Regions from separate parts of the Homo sapiens genome. Here region 2 is linked to region 1. Evidence: promoter capture Hi-C in 16 types of primary human blood cells and fetal thymus (Javierre and others, 2016). All regions are on one chromosome and are shown on one strand. Each heading gives the region's core, a stretch centred on a gene start or on the middle of the fragment in contact. The rest is flanking DNA. Distances are from core to core; before and after follow the strand shown. Region 1 holds the start of HSPB6 (heat shock protein family B (small) member 6). Region 2 overlaps ATP4A (ATPase H+/K+ transporting subunit alpha).

Region 1 (6,697 bases), core at 548-3,047:
GTGGGGCTGAGACTGTCGGCTGAGGGTTAGGGTAGTGCTGGTAGGGTCTGGAAGCCGGGGAGTTGTCGGTGTGGGGTCGGAAAGCTGGAGGGGGTGTGAGAGCGAGGGTGTCAGTGGAAGGGTCTATGTTATCAAGGCAGTGTCCAGGATGGAGGTCAGGGCAGAATCCAGGAGTGGGTGAGAGGACAGTCCTTGGCGCACTCGGGACATCTGGCTGGGCGGAGTCAGATCGGCTTTAATAGAGGGAGCCTGAGGAGGCTCCCGGGGTGCGGGCGCGGCCCAGCCCCCTCCTACTTGGCTGCGGCTGGCGGTGGGGCCTGGGCCGACGCTGGTGCGGCCTGGATGGACAGGACGCCCTCGGGGGACAGCGCGGACGTCACGGCAGCCGGATCCACGCCAGGCGGCAGGCGGTAGCGACGGTGGAACTCGCGCGCGACGAATCCGTGCTCATCCTGGAGGGGAGGGAGGCTTGAGCGGCCCCGCCCCTCCGGCCCGGCGGCGAGCGTACCCGCTCCAGCCCCGCCCCACGCCGCGGCTCACCGGGCGCTCCTCGTGGCGCGCGTGCACCTCCACGTGTTCGCCCACCACCTTGACAGCAATTTCCTCCGGCGAGAAGTGCTTCACGTCTAGCAGCACCGAAAAGTGGCCGGGGTCCGTCGGCACCTGAGCGCAGCGGGCGCGGGCGGGACTGTCATTGGGCTGGGCCAGGCTCCAGGACCCACCCAGGGAGACCCCACCCCCGTCGGTTCCGTGCCGCGGCTCACTCTGGCCTCCGGAGTTGAGCAGTCAGCTCTCCTACTGGGAGTCACCCAGGACCTCTTCACCCTGAACAACAGGGATACGCCCTCCCCCTGTAATATCTGGGATTGCCCTCTCCCCCGCAGTGATGAGGCTCCCTTCCCCTGCAAGGTCAGGAACCTCTGCCCTCCCCCGGTGTCAGCGAATCCGAAGTCATCGTGCCCCCCAGGGCACTGATTCCCCAGCTCCCTCCTCAGAGCCCCGGGTCCCTTCTCCGCCAGCCCCGCCAAACTCGCCAAGATGCCCCTTTCCCCGTCTCCAGGGTCCTCTGCCTACTCTCCCACTCGAGTCACGGGACCTCGGCAGCTACTGGTAGCCTTCCCCCACTTCAGAGTGGCCGGGAACCCTTCCTCAAGTCGCAGGGCCCTCTCCCCTCCTCTTCTGGAGATATCGGGCCACCGCACACAGTCTCTCAACTCTTCCCCGAGACTAAGAACATTCCTTCCCCTCAGGAGTCACTGCCCGCCTCCTTTTCCCCAGATTTCCCGGATCACCAGCCTCCTTCAGAGTAAGCAAGACTCCCCTTAGAGTGACCCAGGCCTTCCATTCTCTGGAGAGCTGAGAGCCCCCCACCCCGCCCCCCACCTAAGAGCGACGGGGACCTCCCACCCGCTGCAGTGTGCGGGCCTCAGATTCCCATTGACTCCGGAAGCCCTTCGGAGCTGCGGACTCTCCACCCCGCCCAAGGCCAACGAACATTCTCTCACATGTTCCCACCCCAGGCTGCCCCAGACCCCTGGCAATGGAAGTGGTCGAGTTCACCCCTCCCCAGGCCTGGCACCTGGGCGACGGGCAGCGCCACGCTGGGTGCGCGCAGGTAGTAGGGGGCGAGCGTGGTGGGGCAGAGCGCAGCCAGCTCGGCCTCCAGCAGCCCCTCGCCGAAGCGCTGGTCAAAGAGGCGTCCGGGCGCCGAAAGTCCGGGCAACGGGGCCGAGGCGCGGCGCAGCCAAGACGGCTGCACAGGCACAGGGATCTCCATCCTGCTCCTCCGCGTTGCAGTGCCCCTGCGTGCGCAGCCGCTCATTTATAGTGCGCCCTGTGCCGGCCCCTCGGAGGGCTGCCCAGGGACACTGGGACCGTGGCCAGACCCGGCCATTAGGAGAGCCTTATTTAGAAACCCAAACAATGACTTGGCCATTTATTAAGCGCCTGCTGGATGCCTGGCAAATGCTGTCAAGAAGGTGACATGAAGATTCCCCAATTTCCAGAAGAGGAAACTAAGGCTGAGGAGGGGGAGCCTTGCGGGTGTGGGGAGCACAGCGTGGTGATTGGGGCCCAGGACCCAAGAGGCCCACGGAAGAGTTTCCAGTCCCTTTAATCCACTGCCTCCCCCCTGGCAGCTCTGAGGATGACGCAGATGGAGGTCTTTAGGAGCAGATTCCTGGAGAATGCGGTAGCCCCGCCAGGATGTCAGGAGGACATAGAACAGGCCCTCCCTACCCTTATCCTCAGCCAGACCTTGGGCCCAGTCCCCCGGCAGGCCGGGCCTAATTCTGTGCCTCTGACTCAGCCTCTGGTGCGCAGAGGCCAGGGGGCGCGAGCATGAACAGTTCAGGCTGGCCCCCCGGGGGCCGCGCGCTGGGGCTGGAAATAGCTCATTTTGATCCCGCTACCTCGGCCAGGAGCCCAGACCTGGCAACTGATGCAACCAGCTGCTCCTGCAGCAAGAAAGAAGTTAGATGACCGTTGGGACGGACTGATTGGCCCAACTGATGGAGGAATAGCGGTTAGAGAGAGGGCAGAGCGCGCCCCCCCCCCAACCCGCCCCACTGCCCCTGCAACAGAAAGAATGGTAGTTAGACCGGGGTCGGGACAGGACTTCTGCAGCAAGAAGGCGCTTAAAAAGCGGGACTTTTAAGCGAGGGTACTTTAGATCACCTCCTAACCGCAAGCCCAGCCTCAGATCCTTCCCATTGGTGCACGGTCTTGCCAATTACTGCTACACTCGGCAGGTTCTCCAATCAAACACGCCCTGTCGGGCAGGCAGTCGTCCCAGCCAATCCTGAAACACCTCCCTCCGGGTACTTCTGTTTCCTCTCTTTCATTGGTCGCCTTGGAGGCCGCTCGCCTCCGGCGCGGGCACAGAGAGGGGCGGGGCTGATAGGGCGTTGCTAAGCGACGGAGATGCGCGCGGGGCCTGTTGGGTGAAGGAGCAGAGCGGCCGGAAGCGCGGAGGGAGCCGCGGGATGGACCGCAGGTGAGGCCGATCGCTCTTCCAGGGACTACAGGAGGCTGGGGAGGACCAACGGCGAGAGCAGCACAGCCTAGGACGGGCTGGATACGGTCTGGAGTCGCTAGGGCTCCACCGCACTGGAACTACAATTCCCAACATGCTCCACAGCCGTTGGCCTCTCCAGCCGTAGCCGTTAGCATCCCGGGGGTCCCCTAAGAGTCTTATGTTCCTCTCTGAGTGGGCCCCAAGGAATTATTGCCTCTAAAGGTGTCCAAGAAAGGCTTGAGATCTGAATTTCTTCATTTTGAAATGGCCCCCAGACACGCCTGGGCGTTGTCTTTGAACTTTCTCGCGGAGGCGGAGCCCAGTGGATCCTGGGGCTTGTAGTCCATCTACCCTTTGCCTTCGTGTCCCCCAGGAATGTATGGGAAATGCTCGGTGATATAATCCAGCCGCGGTTCTTTCTTTCTTTCTTTTTTTTTAAGACAGAGTCTCTCGCTCTGTTGGCCCAGACTGGAGTGCAGTGGCACAATCTTGGCTACTGCAACCTCTGCCCCCGGGTTAAAGCAATTCTCATGCCTCAGCCTCCCAGGTAGCTGGGACTACAGGCACCTGCCACCGCGCCTGGCTAATTTTTTATATTTTTAGTAGAGACGGGGTTTCGCCATGTTAGTAAGGCTGGTCTCGAACACCTGACCTCAAGTGATCCACCCGCCTCGGTGTAATCCCAAAGTGCTGGGATTACAGGCGTGAGCCACCACGCCCGGCGAGCCGCGATTCTTAACCTGAACTCCACTTCGCAATCACCTGGGACGCTGCGGAAAAGACACGGAGGCCCAGCCCCACTAATAGATATTCTGATTCTGTTGGTCTGGAATGGGAACCGCGCGCCTGTAACGTTGAAAAGCCCCTCCTAGACTGGATCCAGGGTTGAGAACCACCGGCTGTCAGTTCCTGAGTTGCTCCCTGTTAAGACTGCTCCAGGGGCGGGCTCCCAGGACTCACCCTTCCACTGTCGATATCCTGAATGTGCAACGGTGCTTCATGGAAATGACAGTCCGTCTCCTCCAGGAATCTATGGGAATTGTCTGGTTCTGCCCTCCTCTAATGTCCCCCTCCCCAGGGCTGCGGCGAAACCACGTGCTGCCTGAACCCCACTTTCCTCTTGCAGCCTGCCAGTTTTCTCCATTCAAGATAGTCCCTTTGGAGATGCGCCCCTGGGTCGAAGCCACTACTGGCCATCCCAGAGCCAGACCTGGTGTCCCAAGGTGAGGACACCCCTCAAAGAGTGCTGAGTGCCAGCCCAGTAGCAAGAGAATGACCTTTAGAGGGTAGGAAGACATGTGATGAGAGATAGGGATGAGAGATTTAAGAGACAGCCCCTTGTCCCCTCCCCACGGCCCTGCCCTTGTCCCCCTCTCTACCACCTGGATTCCCCATCTGAGCCCCCATCACACTAGGTTGTTATCATTACAGGATGTGTTTCCTCCCCTCTGGACTGAGACTTTGTGTGTGTCCTGGTTCCCCTGCAGGGATGACCCATGAGACCTCACACTTTTTCTTCTTGTGCTCTTCCCTGATCTTAGACCCTGAGCCCATCCAGGTCTCAGAGATCCAGGCTCCCACAAGCTCCCAAGGCTCTAGCCACAGGTCCCAACTCCCCTGAGCTGTTTGAGGAGTCCTGGCCATCCAGTTCAGGGACCCCCTCCCTGCCCAGCACCACTGAGGGACAGATGTGGGCCTCCCCAGCACCCACCCTGATTGACAGCGGGGACTCCGTGGTGGCCAAGTAAGTACCAGCAGCCCTGGGGGAAAAAGAGGCTTTGGGTTAGAGGGAGGGAGAAGGCATGCAGTAATAATCATCATGGCCAGAGCTGTTTCTGCAGCACTCTTTTAGGACCAGGCAGTTTATGTGTGTTAAGAACTCTGGTGCTAGACTGCCTGAGTTCAAATCCCAGCTCTGTCATTTAACTCTCTGTATGATCTTGGCCTCAGTTTCTTTATCTCTTTTTATTTATTTATTTATTTGTTTAGAGACAGGGTCTCGCTCTGTTACTCAGGCTGGAGGTCAGTGGTACAATCACAGCTCACTATAACCTCAAACTCCTGGGCTCAAGCCGTCCTCCCACCTCAGCCTCCTGAGTTGCTGGGATTACGATGCATGCCACCACACCCAGCAAACCTCCCACCTTGGCCTCCAAAAAGTGCTGTGATTACAGGCCAGACGTACCATGCCCAGCCTCAGTTTATTTATCTCTAAATTGGGTGTTTTGTTTTGTTTTGTTTTTGTTTTTGTTTTTTTGATGGAGTTTCACTCTTGTTGCCCAAGTTGGAATGCAGTGGCATGATCTCGGCTTACTGCAACCTCTCCCTTCTGGGTTCAAGTGATTCTCCTGCCTCAGCCTCCCAAGTAGCTGGGATTACAGGTGCCCACCACCACACCTGGTTAATTTTGTGTATTTTTAGTAGAGATGGGGTTTCACCATGTTGGCCAGGCTGGTCTCAAACTCCTGACCTCAGGTGATCCACCTGCCTCAGCCTCCCAAAGTTCTGGGATTACAGGTGTGAGCCACTGCCAGGCCTAAATTGGGCATATTAATAGTACACATCCCCTAGGGCTGTTTTGAGCTTTCAGTGAGTTACTATATATAATGATCTCTAGCAGTGCTTCTCACATAGTCACCACTTAGATTTGTAGAATACAGGTTCAGCTGCTGTAACAAAGAGTCCCAAATTAATTATGGCTGAAACAAGATAGAATTTATTCCTCCCTCACCTGCAGTCCAGGCAGAAGCCACCAGGGATGATGTGGCAACCCGTAGTTGAGGTGTCAGGGACACAGGTTACTTCTGTCTTGTTGCTGTCCGAACTCTAGGCCGTTGCCCTTTCCTTCATGGTGCAAAATGGCTTTCAACCACATCAGCTTTCCAAAATCACATTTCATACCCTGTTTGTCAAGAACTTAGTCACGTGGTCACAAGGCTACAAGGGTACCTGGTAAATATAGTCCATAGGAGACTGGCTGTGTGCCCAGCTAAAAGTTACATTCCTGGCTGGGCACAGTGACTCATTCCTGTAATCCCAGCACTTTGGGAAGCCAAAGTGGCAGGATCCCTTAAGCCCAGGAGTTCCTGACCAGCCTGGGCAACATGGCAAGACCCCGTTTCTACTAAAAATACAAAAATTGGCAGGGCTGCAGTGGCTCACGCCTGTAATTCCAGCACTTTGGGAGGCCAAAGTGGGTGGATCACCTGAGATCAGGAGTTTGAGACCAGCCTGACCAACATGGTGAAACTCCGTCTCTACCAAATTAGCCGGGCGTGGTGGTGCATGCCTGTAATCCCAGTGACTTGGGAGGCTGAGGCAGAAGAATCACTTGAACCAGGAGGCAGAGGTTGCAGTGAGCCAAGATCACGCCATTGCACTCTAACCTGGGCAACAAGAGCAAAACTCCGTCTCAAAAAATAAACTAATTAATTACAAATAAATAAATAAATAAAAATACAAAAAGTAGCCGAGTGTGGTGGCATGCACCTGTGTCCCAGCTACCCAGGAGGCTGAGGAGAGAGGATTTCTTGAGCCCAGGAGTTGGGGGCTGCAGTGAGCTATGATTGCACCACTGCCCTCCAGCCTGGGTGACAGAGCGAGACCCTGTCTCAAAAACAGTTATGTGACTATATAAGAAAGAAAAGCAGATATTGAGGGATAGCTACCAGGCTCTGCCAT
Region 2 (6,773 bases), core at 570-3,069, 210 kb before region 1:
CTGAGGCTCCTGGCCCCAGTGTCCCCCTCCAATCCATCCTCTGTATGGCAGCCAGGGGATCTATCTGAAACCCGTCTAACCAGGTCATCCTCCCACTTGCAGCCACTTGCGGCCCCTTGTTACACAGTGGACAGTCCAATTGCTTGGCCTTTGGTTTTACCCAACCAGCAAAACCAGCTTTTCTGAAACTGCTCCCTAGAATAATTTGTCCAGCCAGATTCTTAACATCGTTCAAGCCATGGGGTCAGCATGGGGCTGGGGGGAGAGTTGTGACTGTGAGCTCCTCAGTTCTATGGCCCTCAGATCAGATCCCAGCCTGAGCCTTCTCAGGGTGGAGTGGAGAGACAGCTGCAGCCAAGAAGCAGAGCAGTGGGGCCCCCAGCTTGGACATTGTCCTGGATGCCCCCCTCCACCCTCAGCCTTCCTTGGTCCACTGAAGCCGGCTCCCCGCCTTTCTCTGAGGGGGATGTGTCAGAAGTTTTGAATGTCATGTTTAAGCTCCACTTTGATGTACACCCTCCCCACTCAGGAAGATGCTCCCCATCCTTGGTGTTCCCAGTGGGGTACCCCAGGGAGTAGGATAGCACCATTGCCCCTCCTCCTCCACCAGGCCGTTGAAGTTCCACCTGATTTTTTTTAAGCTTAGGCCTAGGAAAGCTCACTATGACCATCTCGATGTTTCCAGAGGGAGCATTTGCCTTCAGACGGCAGCTGCCATCTAGGCCACTCTTCCTCATTGTTTGGAGTAAAGACAGGGTCCATGGGTCTCTTGGGAGCTGGAAGTGATTGATCACCTTGACTTTGATGTAGAAAGGAAGTAGATGGGGCAGTCTATCTGGGTGGACTTGTGACAAGGTCACTTTCTCCCACACTTCCATGCCCCACATAGCTCTTCACACATATTGAGACAAGTGTAGGATGCAAAATTACCAACTGGAATAATCCCAGCTTACATGGGGTTCAGGGAGAGAGACTGGAGTGGCTGGGCCTGAGTTGGCAGAGGACGGTGAAGCCTGGGCGGTTGGACTGTGGGGAGCCAGGCTTCAGGTGATCGGGGTTATGATGGGAAAACCCCGGGTTATGGGGACCCAGAGGAGCCGCCTGGCCTGCCGTGGAAGCAGTGCGGGCTCCCCTGAGCAGAGGACATGTGAGCTGAGACCTAAAGAATGAGTGATTGGGGCAAGGCAGAGGTAATGGTCTTGAGGTCAGAGAGGGGGCCTGTTTTTCCCAAGGGAACATAACTGGTTGGAATGAGTTCAAGGGGACTTGTAAGACTACAGAAGCTGGCAGGGGTCAGATCACAGGAGGCTTTGGGAACCAAGGAGAGCTCTAGGCAGAGGAAGGACAGGGTCAGATTTGGCTTTAGGAAGCTCTGCATGGCTGTTGTCTGAAATGGGAAAGCTGAGGCCACGAGGCCAGGGCTGGACCAGGGCAGGGCTTTGTGGGGTTAGGAGAGTGACTAGAAGCCAAGCCCAGGTGTTGGTGATCAGTGGCTGTGTGTATTTATTTACCGGCAGGGGGCGCTAACAGGTAAGGGAGGAGCAAAGAGTTCCAGGATAACTGGAGTTTGGGGCTTGTAAGCCCGAGGGCTCACCACGTTTCCAAGGGAGAAGGGACCACACTGATGGGACAGTGGGACTATCAGATTGGGTCAGTGCATGGGTACAGGCATGGGGGGTGATGAAGAGGCCAGTGTAGGTCACCAACACTGGGGGAAGCTGGGGACAGAGGTGGGTCTCACTGCAGAAACAACTGAAGCCATGGGGGACTGGGGGGCTGTGGTCACAAGGAAGGAGAAGCCCAGGCCCTAGCCAGAGAAAGCCACATAAGAAAGAGGAAGAGAGGTGAACAGAGGGGCTGGGAAAGGAGCGGCAGAGATGGGAGGTAGGGGGATGGGGTTAACCTTTCAGGTGAGGGGTGTGAGGAGGGGACCTCCAGGAGTTGTTCAGGAACTGGCCATTGCCGGGACAGAGGAGTAAGCAGGTAGGCTCAGAAAGGAGACACCGCTGGGGGGTGGGGGATGCTTGATGTGGAAATGACTTGGGCCCCCTTGTGTCTGGGAGCCTCCAGGAGGGAGAAGGGTGCTGAGAACAGAGAAAGCCCAGAGGTGGTAGGGGGTGCCTATCGCCACGGCCCAGCTTGCGTTTAGATGCCATGACCCTGGGCAAAGGAATAGGAATCATTTCCCCAAGGCAGGTTTATTGAGGACCTACTATGTGCCAGGCTGTGTACTAGGCACTGGAGGTGCAGCCCTGGATAAACAGCCCCCATGTACAGGACTGTGGGAGATCACAAGCACTAATGAGAGACGCTGAGGACAGTGCCTGGCACCAGATACAGCACAGTCAGCATGAGCTGGTTTTATTACCATCGCCCAGGACACAAGCGTGTCTTTAACGAAGGGCCCTCAGGCAGCCGTCCAGCCTGGACTGGAGTCCTAAGAACAGAAACACCCTCCAGAAGCGGTCAGCTGTACTCCCTGTCAGAGCCCCACCGCCACCACAGGTGGCGGCTTTCCCGAGGCCAGCCCAGAGGACTGCCCAGGCGCTGCTGCTCCAGGAGGTGCGAACCTTGGGAATGGGGGAGGGGAGTGGGCAGGTCCCTCCAAGTTTGGGGTGCCGTGGGCTACAGAAGCAGATACTGGTGGGGCTGGGACTCTTGGTTGCTCAGATATCTTGGTGGCTGTCCAGAGGGTCCCACGAGCCCTGCCCCCACCTGCTGTGGCAGTTGCAGGGATGCTTGAAGGCAGTCGTCCCTCTAATAGTAGAGTTCCTGGTCCCACCAGCCTGGGAGAGAGAGGGAGAAAGGAGACTCAGTGCTGGGGGTGCCACTTAGGCAGGGCCAGGGGCTCAGAGGTCAGTGCTGGTTGCTATGGAGGGTCAAGGGCTTAGAGGCCAAGTGTTGAGGATCAAAGGTGGGTGCAGCTGCTCAAACGTTTCAGTCCCCTGCCCCCAGGCTCCCAGTCTCCACACTCACTCCCTGGGCAACAGCGAACTCCAAGCTTCCGGATCTCATCATAGACGAAGATGAGGATGCCGTAGGGCAGGGGGACCAGCCACCACTGGAACCTGAAGGCACATGGCAAGGTGAAGGCCATCCCAGGCCTGTGCCCTACAGCCCCCTCCCTGTCCTTGCCCCTCACAGCCTCTCACCGAATGGGCATGAAGTTGAAGATGTTGGGCATGCCGGGGCAGTAGCACAGGAAGCAGCCGATGCAGACCTGGAACACGATGGCGATCACCAGGATCTTATTCCTGGGGGTGGGCAGAATGGGACAGGCCATTAGGAATTGGGGACGTGATGGAAATCAGGATACTGTGGGTCAAAGTAGGTCAGATGTCAGCAGCAGCAGGGAGGTGTTCTACACACTGAACACTGGAGTGGCCCGGGCCTCTCAGCACCACCCCTTTAGTGAAATGTGGAGGGGGCCGTGGGGGGAGTTATTGGCCAGTTAGAAAGGTTTTTTTGGCATGTCACCATCTGGCACTGGCACCCGCTGGCATTTGCCGGCTGTTCTAAACCACAGTCAGGATCTGATGGGAGTTGGGACCAGGGGTTGGAGGGCAGGAAGAGGGCCAGCCAGGGACACCTGAAGAAGCCTTGCTGGAAGGCAGAGAGACGGCGCGTCTTGCGGATGAGGACATCGGCGATCTGGCACACCTCAATGCTGATGAAGAACACGGTGTAGCAGGTGTACTGCTGGTACAGGCGCTGCCCGAATGTCTGCAGGCCAGGGGCAAACGGAAACAGCCTGAGTCCAGCCTGAGTCCCGGCGGAGAGCCTCTGCAGCCCACCGGGCATAGGGTCCCAGGGCCGTGAACCCCTAAATGCTCTCTCTGCCTTGCATCAGAGTGTGGGGGTGGGGGGAAGGAGAGAGGCAGGGTCTGCCAGGTGTGCAGGACCCCAGAACGTGGGGCCCAGAAACCTCAGCCTAGCAGAGCTTGGATGACAGTGGCCGGGAAAACTGTAGGCTGGGCCGACTGCTTTCATAGTGAAAGGGGGGAGGCACCCAAAAGAAAGGGCCTGGGAAAGGGGAATTGAAATCCTCAGATGGGATTTGCAAAGTCCAGTGACTCCAGGGGCCAGGCAGATGGCAAAAATAGGTGAGGCAGTCACCGCGGGCCTTTGGGAAAAGAGGGCAGATGCCCCATTTAAAGGGGGCAGCCACTATGCAGCCCATTTCTTCAACACAGCTACTTTTTTTTTTGAGATGGAATCTCGCTCTGTCACCCAGGCTGGAGTGCAGTGGTGCAATCTCAGCTCACTGCAACTTCCGAATCCCAGGTTCAGGAGATTCTCCTGCCTTAGCCTCCCAAGTAGCTGGAATTACAAGCATGTGCCACCATGCCTGGCAACACAACTCCTAATACCAGCTAACTGTGGGGATCACTGACTGCTCCAGGTGCCGAGTGTTGCACGTGCATTAGCTCATTTAATCCGCTGGGTAACCCTAGGAGGTAAATCAGTGGTGCTGGAACTTGAACATGCATGAGAATCCCAGCAAGGGCTCCCAGAGGGCTGGGATAGAGCCTGAGAATTTGCACTGCAAACATGTTCCCAGGAGATGGTGATGCTGCTGGTCTGGGAGCAAACTGAAAACCACTGAGGTAGACTTTGATATTCTCTCCACTTTGCAGGTGAGAAAACAGGCACAGAGAGGCAAAGCAACCTGCCCAGGGTTACACAGCTTGTGAGAAGCAGTACCAGACCATAAGTCCAGGCAGTCTGGCTTCAGTGTCTACCTTAACCATGATAGTAAATGTTTAAGGGAAGTATCCTCGTCTGTATGTAACTCTACAGGTGAACTAAACACATCTGCTGGCCAGATCTAGCCTCACTGTGCTCCAAACCTTCATTAAAATAGACCACATGTGCAAATACCCTGTGGGAGTGATGCTGTAGGGAAAATAGCAGAATAGGGGCCTGGTTCCACATCTGAGATGATGCATTAGTGTCAGGGCAGAGACACCCATCTGCAGTTGCGATCATCAGAAGCAGGAGTTTGGAGCTGGAGATGGTGGGAAAGGCCCTTGCCCCCCCGAACTGGCAGGGAGTCTGGGGGTCCGGGATGCTCTGGCTGAACTCAGTCACACGTGGAGGAACAAGTGGGCCGCACACAAGGCAAGTTGCCCTGGGAAGGAGGGAGCCCAGGGATGGGATGGGGCGGGGCAGGGCTCACCCACTCCTGGCCGTAGCTGTCCTGCAGATCTTGTAGGTGGTGGTCCTCCCACTGCGCCCGCAGCCCCACGCACAGCAGTGGGAACCAGCCCTCCTGGGCCATTGCCGTGAAGTAGTCAGTGAAGCCAGCAAAGGACTGAATGGCACCTGGAGAGAGACAAGGGGACACAGGGAGACAGAGATGGACACAGAGACAGGGACACAGGAAGAGAGGGACATGGAGAGACAGGGACACAGATACACAAAGGTCAAGGACACACAGACAGGGACACGGGAAGAGAGACAGGGACACAGATACACAAGGTCAAGGACACACAGAGCCAGGGACACAGAAACAGTGACAGAGACACAGAGGCAGAGAGAGAAGCAGGGACAGAGAGACAGAGGCAGGGACAGAGAGAAAAAGACACATCCAGGACCCAAAAAGACAGAAATAGGCAACAACTCAGAGACAGGGTCATGGAGAGCAAGGTCAGAGAGAGAGCAGGGACACAGCAGAACCAGAGAGACTGTCACAAACAGAGAGGGACACGGAGGACAACGGAGACCCAGGACCAAATGCAGACACTGAGGTCCAGAACCAGCCGGAGCCCAAGGCAGGGCCTGGGGCAGGCGAGCAGCCCAGCGCAGAGCCCCCCACCTCCAGGCTCCCCGGCCCACGGGCACCCACCAATCTGGAAGTAGGAGTAGGCAGCCAGGGGCTCGTTGACCAATCTGTCACGCTTTGGGTTGCGTGGACGCAGGTGCATGATGTCACTCTCGGCCTTTTCATATGCCAGGGACACAGATGGGAACTGGCCAGGAGTGGAAGGAACTGGGACTGAGGGTTTGGCTGGGCCCTTGTCCCCTCCACTTCGGGTCCCCCTTCCCCCACTTGTGAGCAGGAACAGGACTGAGGTTAGCAGGCAGGACCTGCAGGGACGGCACAGCCACACCAGCCTGGACAGCCTGGGCCCCACTGGCCCCTGGGTGTTGGCATCCTGGTGCCCATCTTCGTAAGAACATCTGCTTTTATCTTCTCCCTCTGTCTCCCTCCCTCTCTTTCTCTGTTCCTCACTCTGTTTCTCTGTCCCTGTCTCCAGTGTAATTCTCTGTGACTGTATCTGCTCTTGTGTATTTCTGTGTCACTCCCTATCTCTGTGTATCTTCAGTCTCTCAGTGTCGCCGTGCCCCTTCATCTGCTTGTGCCTAGAGTGGCAGCAGAGCATACTGACCACGACCACAGGCTGTGGGACCTGTGACTGCTCAAGCTCAAGTCACAGCCGGGCCACTTATTTGCCCAGTGACCTGGGACAATCCACTCTACCTGTCTATGCCTTGATGAGCTCATCAGTAAAGTACGGGTGATAGTAACAAAACTCATCTCATAGTGTGGTTATGAGTACAAAATTAAGGAAATGATGGTGTGTCTGGCCCAGAGAAAGCACTGTGTAAATGTTACCGAATAAATACCTGTCAACACAGCTGCGCCTCTGGCTGCATTCGTGACTGTATCTGTGGTTCTTTTCTGTCTGTCTGCCATGGGGTCTATCTGAGGGGGTTTATTTGTCCGTGTCTGTTTAGGGGCACGTGTCTGTGATTCAAGTTTGGCCAGA

Evidence for each region. Contacts are between HindIII fragments. The CHiCAGO score rates a contact against its expected background, and 5 or more counts as called.
Region 2: a fragment that was not itself captured here is called in contact with the fragment with the promoter of HSPB6 in region 1 in 1 of 17 cell types (neutrophils); the score reaches 5.0 in neutrophils.

Annotation. Positions count from the first base shown.
Region 1 is chr19:35,755,232-35,761,928 of GRCh38, forward strand. It overlaps HSPB6 (heat shock protein family B (small) member 6), which reads right to left and starts at 1,798. Exons shown (of 3, transcript NM_144617.3): 1 at 1,580-1,798; 2 at 541-663; 3 at 1-452. The coding sequence starts at 1,777. The coding sequence ends at 291. PROSER3 (proline and serine rich 3) reads left to right here and starts at 2,945. Exons shown (of 11, transcript NM_001367856.1): 1 at 2,945-2,995; 2 at 4,143-4,239; 3 at 4,558-4,760. The coding sequence starts at 2,985. RefSeq lists enhancers at 2,050-2,621, 2,950-3,189, 3,230-3,289. The HindIII fragment of the contact is 14,255 bases long and covers 1-6,697 here.
Region 2 is chr19:35,547,858-35,554,630 of GRCh38, forward strand. ATP4A (ATPase H+/K+ transporting subunit alpha) reads right to left here. Exons shown (of 22, transcript NM_000704.3): 17 at 5,849-5,972; 18 at 5,180-5,325; 19 at 3,590-3,723; 20 at 3,153-3,254; 21 at 2,977-3,068; 22 at 2,174-2,786. The coding sequence ends at 2,758. Among named protein-coding and RNA genes, the nearest start is that of TMEM147-AS1, 5.2 kb to the left of the region's middle. The HindIII fragment of the contact is 2,360 bases long and covers 640-2,999 here.